Regions from separate parts of the Homo sapiens genome. Here regions 1, 3 and 4 are each linked to region 2. Evidence: promoter capture Hi-C in 16 types of primary human blood cells and fetal thymus (Javierre and others, 2016). All regions are on one chromosome and are shown on one strand. The core of a region is centred on a gene start or on the middle of the fragment in contact, and the rest is flanking DNA. Distances in the headings are between cores, read along the strand shown.

Region 1 (3,864 bases), core at 1,191-3,690, 450 kb after region 2:
CACAATAATGAGATACTACTATACACCAACTAGAATGGCTAAAATTAAAAAAAAAAAAAAAATGACCACACCAAACGCTGACAAGGCTATAGAGCTACAGGGACTCTCACTCATTGCTGGTAGGAATTCAACATGGTACAGTCACCTTAAAAGACAATATGGCAGCTTCTTTTTGTTTGTTTGTTTTTGAAATGTTTTTGAAACAGAGTCTCACTCTGTCACCCAGGCTGGAGTGCAGTGACACAATCTCAACTCACTGCAACCTCCGCCTCCTGGATTCAAGCGATTCTTCTGCCTCAGCTTCTCAAGTAGCTGGGACTACAGGCGCGTGCCACCACACCTGGCTAGTTTTTTGTATTTCTAGTAGAGATAGGGTTTCACCATGTTGGCCAGAATGGTCTCGAACTCCAGACCTGGTGATCCACCCGCCTCGGCCTCCCAAAGTGCTGGGATTACAGGCATGAGCCACCACACCTGGCCAGCAGTTTCTTAAAAAGCTAGTCTTACCACATGATCCAGTAACTGTGCTCCGTGATATTTATCCAAATGAGTTGCAAACTTACATCTACACAAAAACCTGCACACAAATGTTTATAGAAAGTTTACCTGTAACTGCTCAAAACTGGAAGCAATGAACATGCCCTTCAAAAGGTTAATGGAGAAACAAACTATGGTGCTTATCTACAACTAAATCCTATTCAGCAATACAAAGTAAAGAAATGGGCTATGTTGCCATGAGAAGACTTGATGGAGCCCTAAATGCATATTACTAGGTAAAAGAAGCCAATCTGAAAAGGCTACATACTGTATTATTCCAACAATATGACCTTCTGGAAAAGGCAAAACTATTCAGACAGTAAAACTATCAGTGATTGCTGAGCTGGGGAGGGAGGACAGGTAAAGCATGGGAGATTTGGAAACGTAAAACTATTCTTCATGACAATGTAATAATAGATGCAAGACATAATGCATTTGTCAAAACCTGGAAGTATACAACACAAAGAATAAACCTTAATGTAGATAATGGAGTTCAATTAATAATAATGTATCAACCAACATTGGTTCGTTAATTGACAAATGTACCATGCCAATGCAAGAGGTAAATAATAAGAGAAACTGGGAAGGGGAGAAGGGGGATATGGGAGCTATCTGTACCATCTGCTCAATTTTTCTGTAAATCCAAAACAGTTCTACAAAGTAAAGTTTATTAATTAAAAAGAATCCAATGGGAGAAATGATGGGCAAAGGATCCAATTGGACATTTCTCCAAAGAAGACATACAAATAGCCAATAAGCACATGAAAAGATGGTTAACATTATTTAGACATCTAGAAAATGCAAATCAAAATCACAATGAGGTACCACTTCATACCCACCAGGACAGTAAGAATCAAAAAGTCAGATAAAAACAAATGTTGGTGAAGATACAGACAAATCAGAACCCTTATACACTGCTGGTGGGAATATAAAATGGTTCAGCCACTTAGAAAAATAGTCTAACAGGTCTTCATAAAAACTTAGAGCTACCATTTAACCTAGCAATTCCTCTCCTAGATACATACCCAGGAGAAGTGAAAATATACATCTATGCAATAACTTATACACAAATGTTCTTAGTAGCATCACCATAACAGCCAATAGGCAGAAACAACCCAAATGTCCATCCATGGATGAAAGGATGAACGAAGTGTGATATAGCCATACAATGTTATTCAGTCATAAAAAGGAATTAAGTACTGATACATGCTATAATTTGGGTGAGCCTTGAAAACATTAAGCTAAGTGACAGAAGTCAGTTACAAAAAAGCCACAGATGATGCCATTTATATGAAATTTCCAGGATAGGCAAATACATAGAGACAGAAAGTAGACTGGCAGTTGTTTAGGGATGGGATGGGAGAGAGAATGCAAGGATTGAAGAATGATGGCTAGGGGTGAAGGATTTATTTTTGAGGTGATAAAAAGGTTCTAAAACTGATTGTGGGGATAGGAAAAGAACAAAATAAACAAAATAAATAAAATTGATTTTGGCAATGGTTGCACAATCCTGTGAATATACTAAAAACCACTGAATTGTATGTTTTAAGTGGGTGATTTGACAGTAGGTGAATTATATAGCTCAACAAATCTGTTCCCAAAAGAATGTTACCTTCTAAACGTTGATGACTCCCAAATAAGAGCTGTCAGATTTCAGTAATGAAAATACAAATATTGCATGGTTCACACTTATAACAAAGACCATTCATTGCATATCTGAAATTCAACTGTAAGAGGATGTCCTGCATTTTATCTGGCACCCCTACTCCCAAATCTATTCTGTCCAATCCAGAACATAATTATCCTCAGTTCAATATTCACATATCCAGGCCAGATGCGGTGGCTCATGCCTGTAATCCCAGCACTTTGGGAGGCCAAGGCAGGTGGATCACCCAAGGTCAGGAGTTCAAGACCACCCTGGCCAACATGGTGGAACCCATCTCCACTAAAAGTATAAAAATTAGCTGGGCGTGGGGGCAGGTGCCTGTAATTGCAGCTACACGGGAGGCTGAGGCAGGAGACTCCCTTGAACCCAGGAGGCAGAGGTTGCAGTGAGCCGAGATCACACTACTGCACTCCAGCCTGGGTGACACAGCGAGACTCCATCTCGAAAAAAAAAAAAAAAAGATTCACACATCCAATAAGTAGCTCTATTTGATTATGCCCCAGATATCAAACATAACCAAAACTAAAATTACCTCTCATCTCCTCTGAGGAGATGGTCAAAATATATAAGAACTGGTACCTGGTATTGGTATCTTAGGGCTTATACAGGTCTCCTGGTATCCTCTTCCAACCCGCAATGGCCTGGCATAAACAATAGTTGGTGGCTTACAACAGGAGAGTTTCATATTTCAATGAAGAGCCCACAGGCAGATGAGAGCACACTGAACATCAGCCTCCCTCTCTCAAACTAAAATCAGTGGCTCTTCCAACACTTTGCCACCATCATCTCTGACCTGGGAATCTCATGTCCCATCCAGTCTTCACTGTTTACCTCTAAAAGAAAAACCTGATATCTTCACTGTTCTTGAAACCTTTCCATGCAATGGTTCCCACTCTCTTAGAAGAAAGCCCATTTACCTTCTGTCGTTTACAAAGCTATTCAAGAACAGGTCACTGTTCATCTCTCCTGCCACCCTTGGCTGCCCACAGCCTTCCTGGTGTCACAGATCAGCCAAAACAATCTGTTGACCTCAATCCTAAAGGTGGATTGTTCGCTCTTGCCTCCAGGTGTTCGCATCCATTATTCCTTCTGCCTGACCTCCCATGCCCTCATCCATCCCATAAACTCTAACCTGAGCAACTTCCTTTTTTTTTTTTTTTTTTTGAGATGGAATCTTGCTCTGTCGCCCAGGCTGGAGTACAGTGGCACGATCTCAGCTCACTGCAACCTCTGCCTCCCAGGTTCAAGCAATTCTCATGCCTCAGCCTCCCAAGCAGCTGGGATTACAAGAATGTGCCACCATGCCTGGCTAATTTTTGTATTTTTAGTAGAGACAGGGTTTCACCATTTTGACCAGGCTGGTCTCGAACTGTTGACCTCAAGTGATCCACCTGCCTCAGCCTCCCAAAGTGCTGGGATTACAGGCATGAGCCACCACACCCAGCCTAACCTGAGCAACTCCTATACCGAATGCAGGTTCCAACTTAAGATACCAAATCCTCCATGAACCGCCCCCTCTGAGGCTAGTGTTGAGTGAGGTACCTTGTGTCTCTCCTAAAAAGCTCCAAATGAGGCCTATCTTAGAATACTGTAATCATCCATCCCTTCATTTATAAACTCTCTGGGAGACTGGAGCCCCCACAGGCAAGGGATTGTGCCCA
Region 2 (3,765 bases), core at 549-3,048:
CGGGATTTGGGGGATTTTCGTGTTTTCTAGATCGTGGATGGTTTGGTTGAAACCCCCGCATCTTCTGTCCGCCAAGGTCCCCCGGGGTGAGGTTGGGTTCAAGGACAGGAAAAAGTTAAGTGGCGTCAGGACGAAAGCACCACTTCTCCCCCTTCTCTCCCAGAATCTTCCTATCATCCCCCAACGCGCCCCGGGAAGTGCATGGTCCTAAGGTCCAAGGCGCCAGGACCCAGGTCCCCAGAGCCCTCAATCAGTGCCATTCTCTTCCGCAGCGCGGGTGTCAGCCGCGAGCTCGTAGCCCCTCGACACCCGCCTCTCTCTGGGGTCTCCGGGGACCCTTTCAGAGGCTGTAAAGGTGTCAGAAGCCCAAGGCAGGAGGCAGCTTGGTCGGCGCACCTCCCGGGCCACTGCTGCCACTGTCGGGGAGAGCCAGCAGCTCACCTCTGGGGTCGCGGAGGCCCTGAGCCTCTGCCTGCCGCGCACCGGCGTCAGGAGCAAGTCCGCGCGGCCGCGGAGCCGCAGAGTTACAGCCCCAAGGCGCGCGGCGGACTTCGCCCGCCCCATCTCCTCGCCTCGCGCCTCGGGACAGCTCCCGTTTCCTCCGAGCGGCCTCAGCTTCGCTGCCAGCGCCCCCTTTGCCCGTCCAGCCGCGGCATGGGCTGCTACTCCACTAACACACGCGCGCGCGCATACACACACACACACACACACACACACACACACACCCTTTGCCTCGCCAAGCGCCCACACTCGCCAACGCCCCCGCCCCGCCCTTCGGCCACCGCAGCAGAGGCCACGCGTGACATTTAGGACCACGCGTGACCACCGCGATCAAACGACGGCTACGGTCTGTGTTCGTAGGGAAGTGAAGTCAGACCTCTGCTGGATGTCGTGTGTCCCCTAGGACTGCGTCCTCCCGCGCAGACAGGTACGTGCCTGGGGTGTGCACATAGCCTCGGTGATAAGTGTCAAAGAGAATTTTCGTGCTTGCAGCCCCTGTTCTACAGTCAAGACTCGCGTTGGTGTTTTCTTTTAAAATCATGCCCTTAGGGATGTGTGTTCATGCTGCTTTATTTGTACAAGACACCCTTCCCCGGCCCGGCCTTCTCCGAGCCACCCCAGCGCGTCCTCCTAGATGCGACGACGTGTTTTTCCTAGCGAAGTCATCACGAGGTTAGCCACCTCGGACACTTCCCCGGCAGCCCCAAGCCCACGCAGAGATCGCAGACACAGACACCCGGCGCGCTGTAGGTCTGCAGGCAGCAGGCTCAGAGGCAAGCGATGGCAAAGGTCCGAGCGCTGTCCTGTCGCAAGGGGTCCGGGGGCGTGTGAACCACACTTGCTGACCCTCCCAGGACTCCCGCGCGCGGCCACCCGCGCCTCTTCTCAAATCACTTACCCCGATTCACTCCAGACTGTGGCCGGGGAGGTCACTCCCTGCAGAAGTGTCCCCCTCCCCCAACGCCGGCGAATAATTTTAAAGCAAAGGAGGCGCGGCCAGGTGGGCTCCCAAGCTCCGCGCAGACCCTTGGGCCAGCCTTGGCCGCTACCCGAGCGCCTCTCCACCAGACCTTGGAGGGAAGTTGGGGGAAGGGCGGGAGAGCACCGGCGCCCAGGGCGCAGGGGCCAGAGCGAGCCTGGCGTTCCGCCGCAGCCGGCTGAGACTCGGCGACGCGGGGGCTGTACCTGTGGCTGCGGGGCCGACGGCCGGCTGCAGGGCGGCTGGCTCTCCCGCCTCGAGACTAGGCGCACTCCCATCCCCGCCGCATGTTCTCCACGCGGGCTCCAGCGCGCTCACCACCGCCACCGCCGTCGTCTCGGCTTTATTTACCCAGCCCGGCGCGCGCCGCCCGGGAACAGGAATAGCGAGGCCTTCTCATGTTTCCTGACTGCCGGTCCCAGCCGGCGAACATCCTGCGGGCGCGGTATCCACGTTCCCGGGCGGGTGGAGAGGAAGCGTCCGCGCCCGCCCGGCCGCGGGGGCTGCTGTTAACCCCTAGCAGAGGAGCCGCTGCCGGGGAGCCCCGGGCCCGCCGAGTCCTCCGGAGCCGGGCGCGGCTCCCAGATCCGCCGGCCTTGCAGTCGTGGAGCAGACGGGGCTTTTCCCTTCGCACTTTAGGAGAGAAATTGGAGAAGCTGCCGGGAGCGCTCGGCTCCGGCTCCAGAAGCTGAGAGGCTGCGGTGCAAATCCCGTGTCTTAGCTGGCCCGATTGCCGGAAATTTCACTGCGCGTGGCTAGGCGGGAGAGGCCACTGTGACGCGCCCTGTATTTTCCTCTCGATTAGCTGGAGGGAAGTTAGAGCTCCGTTTTGCACCTACAGCCCTGGAGCGTATTGCGGGAAGTGCTAGTGCCCAGGAGCCTCTTTTCTGATGTCACTGGGCTTCTGGGGTCCTAGTTGTCTCAGTCAAAGCCAGGCACACATTCACCTCCGGGGCAAGGGCTGGTGAGGCTGCCCTCGCCGCTGGGTATAGGGATGGGGGAAAGCAAGGATGGGATGAGTTCAGCCCAGGTGGCCAACCCGCGGTGGCCCAAGTGCAGAAGAGGAAGCGCGCCCAAAGCCAAGGATCTGCACGCAGCAAAGGAGATGGAACTTAGAAGAATCACAAGCTGGGACACAGGGCAAAGAGAGAGAATGGCTACCAGATTCTCTGATTGATGATACTTTGCTTCCTAACATTACCGCAAATATAAGTAGCGAAAGCGGCGGTTTAGGTGCAACTGCAAGCTCAGAGCTTCTGGCAGCCCAGAAGATCCCCAAGGTGCCAACACGAAGCTGCCTGCGCTCTCGCCGAAGGCCCTGTGGTCCTAGCGAACTTTCGCCCTTTTTAAAGAACAAACTTAGATTTCCCCCCACCAAGCTTAAAGAAATAGCGCCATTTGTCCTTTTCCCCTCTAAATGCGGCTGGCCAGAGCCGGGGCAGTGGCCCACCTTAGCATCTTCTTCGTGTGTGTGTGTGTGTGTGCGCGTGTGTGTGTGTGTGTTTGTGTGTTGGGGGGGTCGCTAGAAGTGCTTAAAATATATACCAAAACTATTATTTTAAAGACTAATCACACCCTCAAATTTCATATGTGTCACCTCCCAAATTACGCGATAGCAAACCGTTGTGCAGGGGTACAATGTAAACCATAAAGGAAGGCCGGTTTACATTTTTGCGCACCAGGAAGATACAAAGTATCATTGGAGCACGTTCTGATGTCCTCGGTTCTCTTTTGTTATATAACTTGCTGTTGCAGCGCTTGCATCTTGTCTTTGGCGCTGCCCTTGTGGTGTGAGTTCAGTACAGGCTTCTGGTCTACAGACCTCGCTGTAGGAGCTTAAAGACAGGGGTAAATCCTAAGGTTTCAGCCATCAATTTTCAGCTAACAAATTTCACCACAGAAGCAGATCTAATTGATAATTCATAGGACAAAAGAGCCACCTTCTCTTTTATGGTCTCTATCAGTGGTGTTAGTCACCGGGAATTGTAATGAAATTAGCTCTAACATACCCCTGAAACATTTTTTGGTCAGCTGTCCCAGGTAAAGCAATAGGCATCATACAGTTACTTGCAATTTCCCAGTATTCTACTAACTTTTTGAGCTATATGCTATAGTACATGTTAGTATAGGACAAATGAATTTTGTTGTTTTAGTACTTAACTATATTTACTCAATTTAAAAATGCATTTAGAGCGCTTTTAAGATATACTTACATGTAATATTTGTTTTCTTAAAGTCTGAAATGAAATATACAGCAAAAATCTTAATGCAAAAATACTTTTCAT
Region 3 (3,911 bases), core at 15-2,514, 330 kb before region 2:
GTTACGATTCTGGGGAGCAAGTCTTCCTCATCCCTCTCACCTTCTCCTGGCCTCCCTGTAAACCCACACCACCAGGTACCTCAATTTTTTTCAAGGCCAAGATGTTCTTAATGTTGGTAAATTGATCGAGCAAATGGGTGAGCCACTGCTTGCTCTGCACGTCGTACTCAGGGTCCTCGGTCTTCAGGTAGTACAGCAGCCGCATGGCTTTGGCCCGCAGGAGTAACTGGCCCATTCCTAGGCTGCCCCCCAAGATGTATCCTCCGAAGAAGCCGGTCAGGTAGAGGGGATGCCTGCCGTGGTTGTAGGCGGGGAAGGAGATGCTGCTCAGGTTGAGCGTTTTGTTCACCTGCCAGGCGTACAGGATCGGGTTGGGGGGCACGCAGAGCGCCCTGTACCTCGCGCACACCTGCTGGTACTGGATCTGGCTTCCCTTTTCCCGCGCCACGCGCAGATCCTGCACCGCGCCGTCCAGTTTGCTGACTTCTGCAAAGGTAGCTGGGTCCAGCAGTGAGTCGCTGTAGGAGACCACCAGAAGCGAGACGAAATTGGCTTCGGTGCTCCTCCTGGAGGCGGAGAAGCGGTAGGAGTCGTTGGTGGTGAAATGGCCCTGCACGAAGCGCCGCTCCGCCTTGGCCGGGCTCCCCACAGGGGTGTAATGCTCCTCTAGGTCTTCCTCTTCGTCCTTGGGTAGGTACAGGAAGCCGGTGCCCAGCGCGGCTGTCAGCATCAAGGGCGCCAGCAGGAAGATCCAGGGGTGCGCGCCCACCTGCCACCCCAGCCACTGGAAGGTGCGGGACAGCAGCCCCTCTAGGCAGTCGGTGTGACAGCGGTGCCGGTGCCTGCAGATGGCCGTGGGTTCGGGGGTTTCCTCCTCCGGCAGGGGTGCATCGTCCAGCTCCAGCGGCAGGCGGGGTGCATCGTCCAGCATCGACGGCCGGGGGGGTGCATCGTCCCCCTCTGGCAGGGGTGCATCCTGCTCCGACGCCAGGGGTCCTGAGGGTTCGGGGGATTTCGGGGGTGCCAGGGGTCCCGGGGGTGGCTGCTTGCCTTCCGACTCCGATTCCTGAGATTCCTGGTACCACTGCGGCCCGGTGGCAGAGTCCGGTTTGGTGAGCTTGGGCTTCTGCTCCGGCCCCGGCCTGGGCTTGGGCTCCACCCACGGCATTGATTCTTCCTCTTAGGAAGCGCAGGAGGAACAGCAGGTGAAAAGCAGCTGCGGAGATCCCACCAGACGGTTTCCTGGCCCCACCCAACGCTCTCCTGGCCCCACCCAACGGTTTCCTGGAGAAATTCTAGGGGAGTTTGCCCTCCAGCCGCGCTCCGGAAGCGGAGGCTGCGTTGGGAGCACGTGGTTTGCCCCGTCGCCCAACTAATCTGAAATGTGTTTGTGGCGTGCCTGGTTTCTCAGGGGTTCTGCACATACAAGGAACGCTTCTTCAAGGCCATCAAATGCGTGCCTATCCTATGGACTCGCAATTTATTGGGAGAATGTGGGTGTTTCTTCCATGCACACAAATGGCACAGAAATTCCACGTGTCCTGAGTGACAGATTTTACCTTTCTTGGCATTCACCCAGTAACAGTTTCAAGTAAGACTTTTATGAATCTGACACACTTGACTTAGTTATTATTTTTATTTTCTGTCCACAAGTGTAACATGTACATACATTCTCCTAGTAAAAAGAAGTAAATGCATAGAATGAAAAGTGGGGAAAAAAAAATCAAAATCTTTCACTCCCATTCCTCTTAAAAGAAGTGTTAAAAAGTGGGTCTACATCCTTGCAAACCCTTTCTATGCATATACATGCATATCAAAGATATAGCAAATATACCTTTTTCATAAATACTACTTCACTATTCATGTTATGTAGATCACATTTTTCATCTACAGTGGCAGAAGATTTGAACATGTCAGTGCATATGGATTTATCTTATTTTTTTGAACTGCTCTATACTTTTCCAATGTATGGATGAAACATAATTTAGCCAGAATTTTACTGATGGACCCATACATTGTTTAGTCATTTGCTTTTATAAACAGTGCTCAGTAAATAAATATCATATTTTAACCTGTACACAGCAACCATATCTGTGAGAGATAATTCTTTAGAGTGGATTCACTAGGCCAAAGGATAGGTTCTTTTAAATTTTTAGAGCTATTGAGAAATTAAAATCCAAAGAAGTTGTATTGATTTATACCCTCATAAGCAATATATGAATTTGCCACAGCCTATCCTACAATGTCAGCAAAGTGGTTTGTGCCACTGGCATCTTACTTTGGTTTAATTTTGAATGTACTGCTTAGTATCCTTATCTTTCCTTTTTGAGTGAACTATCATATCTTTTGCGTGCCTATTCCATTCAATAGTTTTCCTATTGGATTTTGGGATTTTCTTCTTGATTTATATGTTAAAGAAATGACCACTTTTCTTGTGGTCTGAGTTACAAGCCTCCCCTCTCCCCTCATTTTTCTCATTGCCATGGCTTATTTTTGCAATTCAATTAATGAATACTTTTCTTTCATGAATTCCATTTTTTGTCATAACAAATTTTTCTTTTTTTGTGATTATAATTGCTGCGATTTGAATGAATGTGTCCCTCCAAAATTCAAAGGTTGGAACTCAAACCCCAATGTGATAGTCTTTAGGGGTGATTAAGTCATGATGGTAGACCTCTTATGAGTGGGATTAGTGACCTTATAAAAGGGCTGGAGATAACTAGCTAGGCCCTTTTGCCCTTCCACTCTTTCGCCAGGTGAGGACATAGCCTTCCTTCCCTCCAGAGGGTGCAGCAACAAGGCACCAACTTGGAAGCAAAGGCTGGGCCCTCCAGACACCAAACCTGCCAACATCTTGATTTTGGACTTCCCCCATCCAGAATTGTAAGAAATAAATTCCTGTTGTTTGTAAACAGGATCTTAGATATTTTGTTATAACAGCACTAATGGACTAATACAATAATTATCTGCTTTTTAAAAATTTAAATATTAATCCATCTGGAATTTATTTTAGTTTAATGTAGGCAGTTAAGAATCAATGACATTAAGTGATAGTTGCCAACTGAAAACTATGCTACCCTTTCCATCATAATATGGAATTGTAATTGAAATATGGCTGTCCAATCAAGGATTACATTTTCAAATCTCCTTTGTTCCTTTGTGTGGCCTTGTGACCAGTAATCAGCTACAGAATATAAGTGGAAGTGATGGGTGTTTCTTCCAGACCAAGACCTTTAAGAATTGCTCTATCCCATCCCATCATCTAGACATAGGTGACAGAGGAACCTACTTGAACTGTGGTACATAAGCTGGCAGGAACCTGGGTTCCTGAAGCATCATGGGCAGGATACCTAGTCACTGACCAGGAACATCTGTAGTGACTGTTACATGAGTGAGAGATATATTTGTATTGTGATAAGCCACTAAAATGTCATGGCTTATTTATTAAAATGATTAGTTTGGCTTTACTACTAGATAATCCATGAAGATATAGCTGTCCCTAACACTCATATCTGAGCACACTTTAGTTTACTTAGCACTCTACCTGTTGACATTGAAAGAGAGGTGTTAATTACATAGCATTTGAAAAAGATCTGGAAGAAAGGTGGTTTATCAGTGGGTGTACTTCAGGGTTAACCAGATGTTAAAATGAGAATTCTATTCAGTGCGCTTGTGTCATCCACATCAGTAGATCTGACTATGGCAGTATCAGAAAGCAAAAAACAGACGTATATCAAACCAGTCCCTGCTTATTTTAATTCAACTATCAATAATAATACTTCATTTAAAATAAGGCATCCAAAACAAATTTAAATTAGATGGTTTGCCAGGACTATAACCTATATTAAGCAAAATACCCCTTTTTTGTAAATATAAGTGAATAATCATGAGGAATAACATGAAGAAGGAGG
Region 4 (4,076 bases), core at 236-2,735, 410 kb after region 2:
CACCAGCCTGGGTAACATGGTGAAACCCCAACTCTACAAAAAATACAGAAATTGGCCAGGCATGGTAGTGTACACCTGTAGTCCCAGCTACTCGGGAGGCTGAAGTGGGCAGACTGATTGATTGATTGAGCCCAGGAAGTGGAGGTTGCAGTGAGCTCAGATTGTGCCACCACACTCCAGCCTGGGCAACAGAGCCAGACCCTGTCTCCAAAAAAAAAAAGAAAGAAAAAGAAAAAGGCATTAAAGAATAGGAGACCCTTGGGCCAATTTGTGCTTCACTCCATTTTCCTTGGACAGATTTGGGGAGGAAGGGAGGTAGCAGGTAAGACGAGGAACAGAAAACCTGTTAGGAGGATATTGTGCTAGTGGTCAGAAACTTAAAAAAAAAAAACAAAACAAAACAAACAAACTGGTCACTGCTCAGTGCAGATGACTTTGGGGTTCCTCAGGTTTCCCTTTCTTTGCAAACACAATGGACTTAAGCAGTTCCATCTCCTCTCAGCAGCCACCACACTGCCTCTATCCCCAAATCTGTTGTGAAATCAGATGTACTCTTCCAGCTATTGTTTTCCTTGCTGCCTCCAAGATAAACATATAGGCCCATTGTACGTTAGAGATTTAACTGTTATCTCCATAGAGAAAAGGAAAAGCACTAAAAAAAATGAAGAATTTATAGTATTTTCACAGTTTTAAAAGATGAAGTATCAACATAATTTACTGAGAGTCTTGAAGTCAAATACATGAGTTTAAATCCCAATTCCGCCCCTTACTTATGCTTAAGCAACTTATTTAACTTTCTATGCCTTAGTTTTCTCATATTTAAAACAGGATAATAATCGTATCTATTAACTAGGGTTACTGTGAGAATGAAAGTCACCATTAAAAGAGTTTCACGCAAGTTCTGGAAAATAGAAAACACCTAATAAACAGTATTTATTTCCAATTCCCCTGCTCGCTTCCACTGGTGTTCCTAGTAAGAGGAGATTCTCGTCTCCCTTTGACTACACCATGTCGTGTATACATATGATACAATCAAGACCTAAAGATCAACATCAAAGATTAATCGGTATCACCTATATTCAAGAAGAGAATTTCTGAGGTCACGCAACCAAATGCCATCTCTATTGACATTTCTTCAAAAACAGTCCAAGTAAAAAGAGAAGAGGACCTGAACAAAGGGCTAATGGAAGCCTGGATGGACACAGGAAAGGCAGACAGTAACTGTGACCACCAGATACGGACACAGGAAAGGCAGACACTAACTGTGATCACTGCAAGTGGCAAATGATGGAAAGGGTGCAAGACCAAGCTGAGAGTATCATAAGGAGGTTTCCTGGAGGAATGAGGGGTGTGATGAAAAACCTAGATCTACATGTTTATTAACAGGTTCAAAAAGAATCTGTCTGGACGCACCCACAGCTCTAGCTGCCCTGTTCCCAAAGAAGAAAGTTCTATCTTTGGTGAGAAGACAGAATGAAACCCTCACACAAGAAAAAGTGTAACAGTGAGGTGGAAAGATTCTTAGAAAAAGAGTAATCGGCCAGGTGTGGTGGCTCACACCTGTAATCCCAGCACTTTGGGAGGCCGAGGCAAGAGGATCACCTGAGGTCAGGAGTTCGAGACCAGCCTGGTCAACATGGTGAAACCCTGTCTCTACCAAAAATACTAAAATTAGCCAGGTGTGGTGCAGCGTGCCTGTAATCCCAGCTACTCGGGAGGCTGAGACAGGAGAATCGCTTGAACCCGAGAGGCAGAGGTTGCAGTGAGCCGAGATCATGCCATTGCACTTCAGCCTGGGCAGCAGGGCGAGACTTGGTCTCAGAAAGGAAAGGAAAGAAAAGGAAAAGGAAAAGAAAAAGAGTAACCGTCAGAGTCACTTCAAAGACGATACAGGGCTAGCTATCACTGTTGTCAGCTCTCATCTGTCTATCATTTGGGAATCCAAAGACCCTCTGCCCACAAGCCCAAATTCTGTTGAAATTAATAAGGAAGCTCACATAATTTTGAGATGAGCTAGGATCTGGTTAGGGAATGTGGAGTGTATTCCAATGTGACTGTATGGAAAATGACTATTAGACAGGAATCAGACTTTATTCACAATGGAAATACCCAGCAACCATAAACTGGTTGTCACTTCCTTATTTAAGCCCTTTGGTGGCTTGCCATTGCTCTTGAGATGAAGGGCATGCCTGCCAATGCACTTGAAACTCAAGCCTGTTCTGGGGCTCTGCATGCCCTGGACCCTGCAGACTTCCATCTCAAGCCATTCTCCATCAGGTTCCACCCACAGGGACCTTATGTTAGACCCTCAAGCACCCAGAGTCTCTCCTACCTCAAGGCATCCTCTCTGCCTGCAATGTTCCTGAGTCTTGGGGGTACCCACATTCATCTCTGAGTCTTAGCTAAAATGTCACTTACACACAGCTTTTCCCAACAGTCTTACCCAATCAAAACCAGTTCTCCTTCATTATTAGGTCTGATGGCTTCCTATTCTTTTTGTTCACTATCCTTATCAGACTTTGTATTTATAGATTTATCATATTTATCTGTTTACACCCCCATCGGTAAGGAAATTCATAGATCAGGGACAATGTCCCTAGAGTTCACCACCAGATCCCTTGCTCATAACCCAATGCCTCACATAAAATAGATGTTAAAACGTTATTATTAGTTAGTGATAAGTGGACATATAAATCCTCTAATCCTGCACAGTTGGTAACACCCTGGGATCACCGTGGAAGAGGATGATAAATGCAATGATTTTCTTCTTGCCCCAAAACTGATGACTAGTCCCCAAAGCTGAGGAAAAAGAAGTGTTAAGTCTCATGTTCTAAGAAAAACTCCAAACAGCTGAAACATACACTTCTCTAGACTCAAAGAGATGGGTGAAATGTAACCATCAACTATCTTCTATCTGCCACTTCCCAGAATGTGTGTGTGTGAAATTTATATATGAAATATAAATTTCATATATACATACATACATAGGACTACAGAGTGGAAATTGTCTTACGGAAATAGGAAAAGAGGGGACAGCCGGCAGGGGGGCCCACAGCCTAGTGAAGAGTAGAATAATGGAGGTAAGTCTCTGAGACAATCCCTCATAGAGAACAGGGGTACAGAGAAGACGACAGAGGACAAACTCTAGCTCCTATGCAGGCAGCAGACTAGCTGATTTTCCTTTCGTGTTTCTCTAATCAAGGTGACAAGGGAAATGAGGCAGGATGGCAGAACAGAGAGAGGGAACAGTAGAGGCCGACAGTTGCTTGGCCTACAAATGATGCATGAGTTACCTACAGGTCACATGGACCCCACTGAAAGTAGTTGGGCTGGAGCCACCCTGCAGATAATCCAGCCTACAGCACTACAGGAGGTTTTGGGTTACACAAGCCATGCACTGTAAGAGAAATGCAACATTTGAGCACTTCCACAAAGAGTAAGAATGCTGGTCAGTGCTGGCCTGAGAAGAGGCAATAATGTGGCCAACTTCTGTCTCCCTGTCCCAACACAACAGAAGAACTGGATCTCCTTTCAAAAGCAAACCGATCCATCTTGCAAAGGGTATTGGGGGAGTAGGGGTAAAAGGAGAACACACTATCCCCCATCCCCAAGCCAACTCCCCTACCCCTGGCTGACACTAGGGACAGGAGGAGGTGAGACTCAGATCAGAGATGACCACAAAGGAATACTAAATTGAGCTTTTAATAATTGAAAATGTCCTGGAAGCTACAGACTGCCAGAAATTTTGTTAAAAGAGATAGAAAAGTTAGCTTTGATGTAACATATTTTGATGCAGTGATTGGAGAAAATTAAAACTCCCTCTTTGAGCACTGTTTGATTTGTTGTCTAGAACAGTATAGCCCAATAGTTCTCAACTTTTTTGGTCTCAGAACTCGTCTTAGTTTCTTAAAATTCACTGAGTATCTTAAAGAGTTCTATGTGCTTATATCTACTGATAATTTGTAATACTGAAAATAAAACTAAGAATTTTTAAAAATTTATTCACTTAAAATAACAATAAATGTGTTAAAATGACATCTTACCAAAAATCAGTATATTTTCCAAAATAAAAGTTT

The links. The method cuts DNA at HindIII sites, captures the fragments that hold promoters and counts their contacts. A CHiCAGO score of 5 or more calls a contact.
Region 1: a fragment that was not itself captured here is called in contact with the fragment with the promoter of MKX in region 2 in 5 of 17 cell types (M0 macrophages, endothelial precursors, total CD4 T cells and 2 more); the score reaches 6.9 in M0 macrophages.
Region 3: the fragment with the promoter of PTCHD3 here is called in contact with the fragment with the promoter of MKX in region 2 in 3 of 17 cell types (M0 macrophages, erythroblasts and M1 macrophages); the score reaches 7.9 in M0 macrophages.
Region 4: a fragment that was not itself captured here is called in contact with the fragment with the promoter of MKX in region 2 in 1 of 17 cell types (M0 macrophages); the score reaches 6.8 in M0 macrophages.

Annotation. Positions count from the first base shown.
Region 1 is chr10:28,193,834-28,197,697 of GRCh38, forward strand. The region is part of intron 3 of MPP7 (MAGUK p55 scaffold protein 7); the gene reads right to left. Among named protein-coding and RNA genes, the nearest start is that of MIR8086, 94 kb to the right of the region's middle. The HindIII fragment of the contact is 7,687 bases long and covers 1-3,864 here.
Region 2 is chr10:27,744,021-27,747,785 of GRCh38, forward strand. MKX (mohawk homeobox) reads right to left here and starts at 1,799. Exons shown (of 7, transcript NM_173576.3): 1 at 1,687-1,799. MKX-AS1 (MKX antisense RNA 1) reads left to right here and starts at 595. Exons shown (of 2, transcript NR_121652.1): 1 at 595-928. RefSeq lists an enhancer at 1,290-1,880. The HindIII fragment of the contact is 8,324 bases long and covers 1-2,857 here.
Region 3 is chr10:27,413,083-27,416,993 of GRCh38, forward strand. PTCHD3 (patched domain containing 3 (gene/pseudogene)) reads right to left here and starts at 1,265. Exons shown (of 4, transcript NM_001034842.5): 1 at 80-1,265. The coding sequence starts at 1,168. RefSeq lists a silencer at 318-612. The HindIII fragment of the contact is 6,271 bases long and covers 1-3,911 here.
Region 4 is chr10:28,155,390-28,159,465 of GRCh38, forward strand. All of the region lies in intron 3 of MPP7 (MAGUK p55 scaffold protein 7), which reads right to left. Among named protein-coding and RNA genes, the nearest start is that of SNORD130, 84 kb to the left of the region's middle. The HindIII fragment of the contact is 6,328 bases long and covers 1-4,076 here.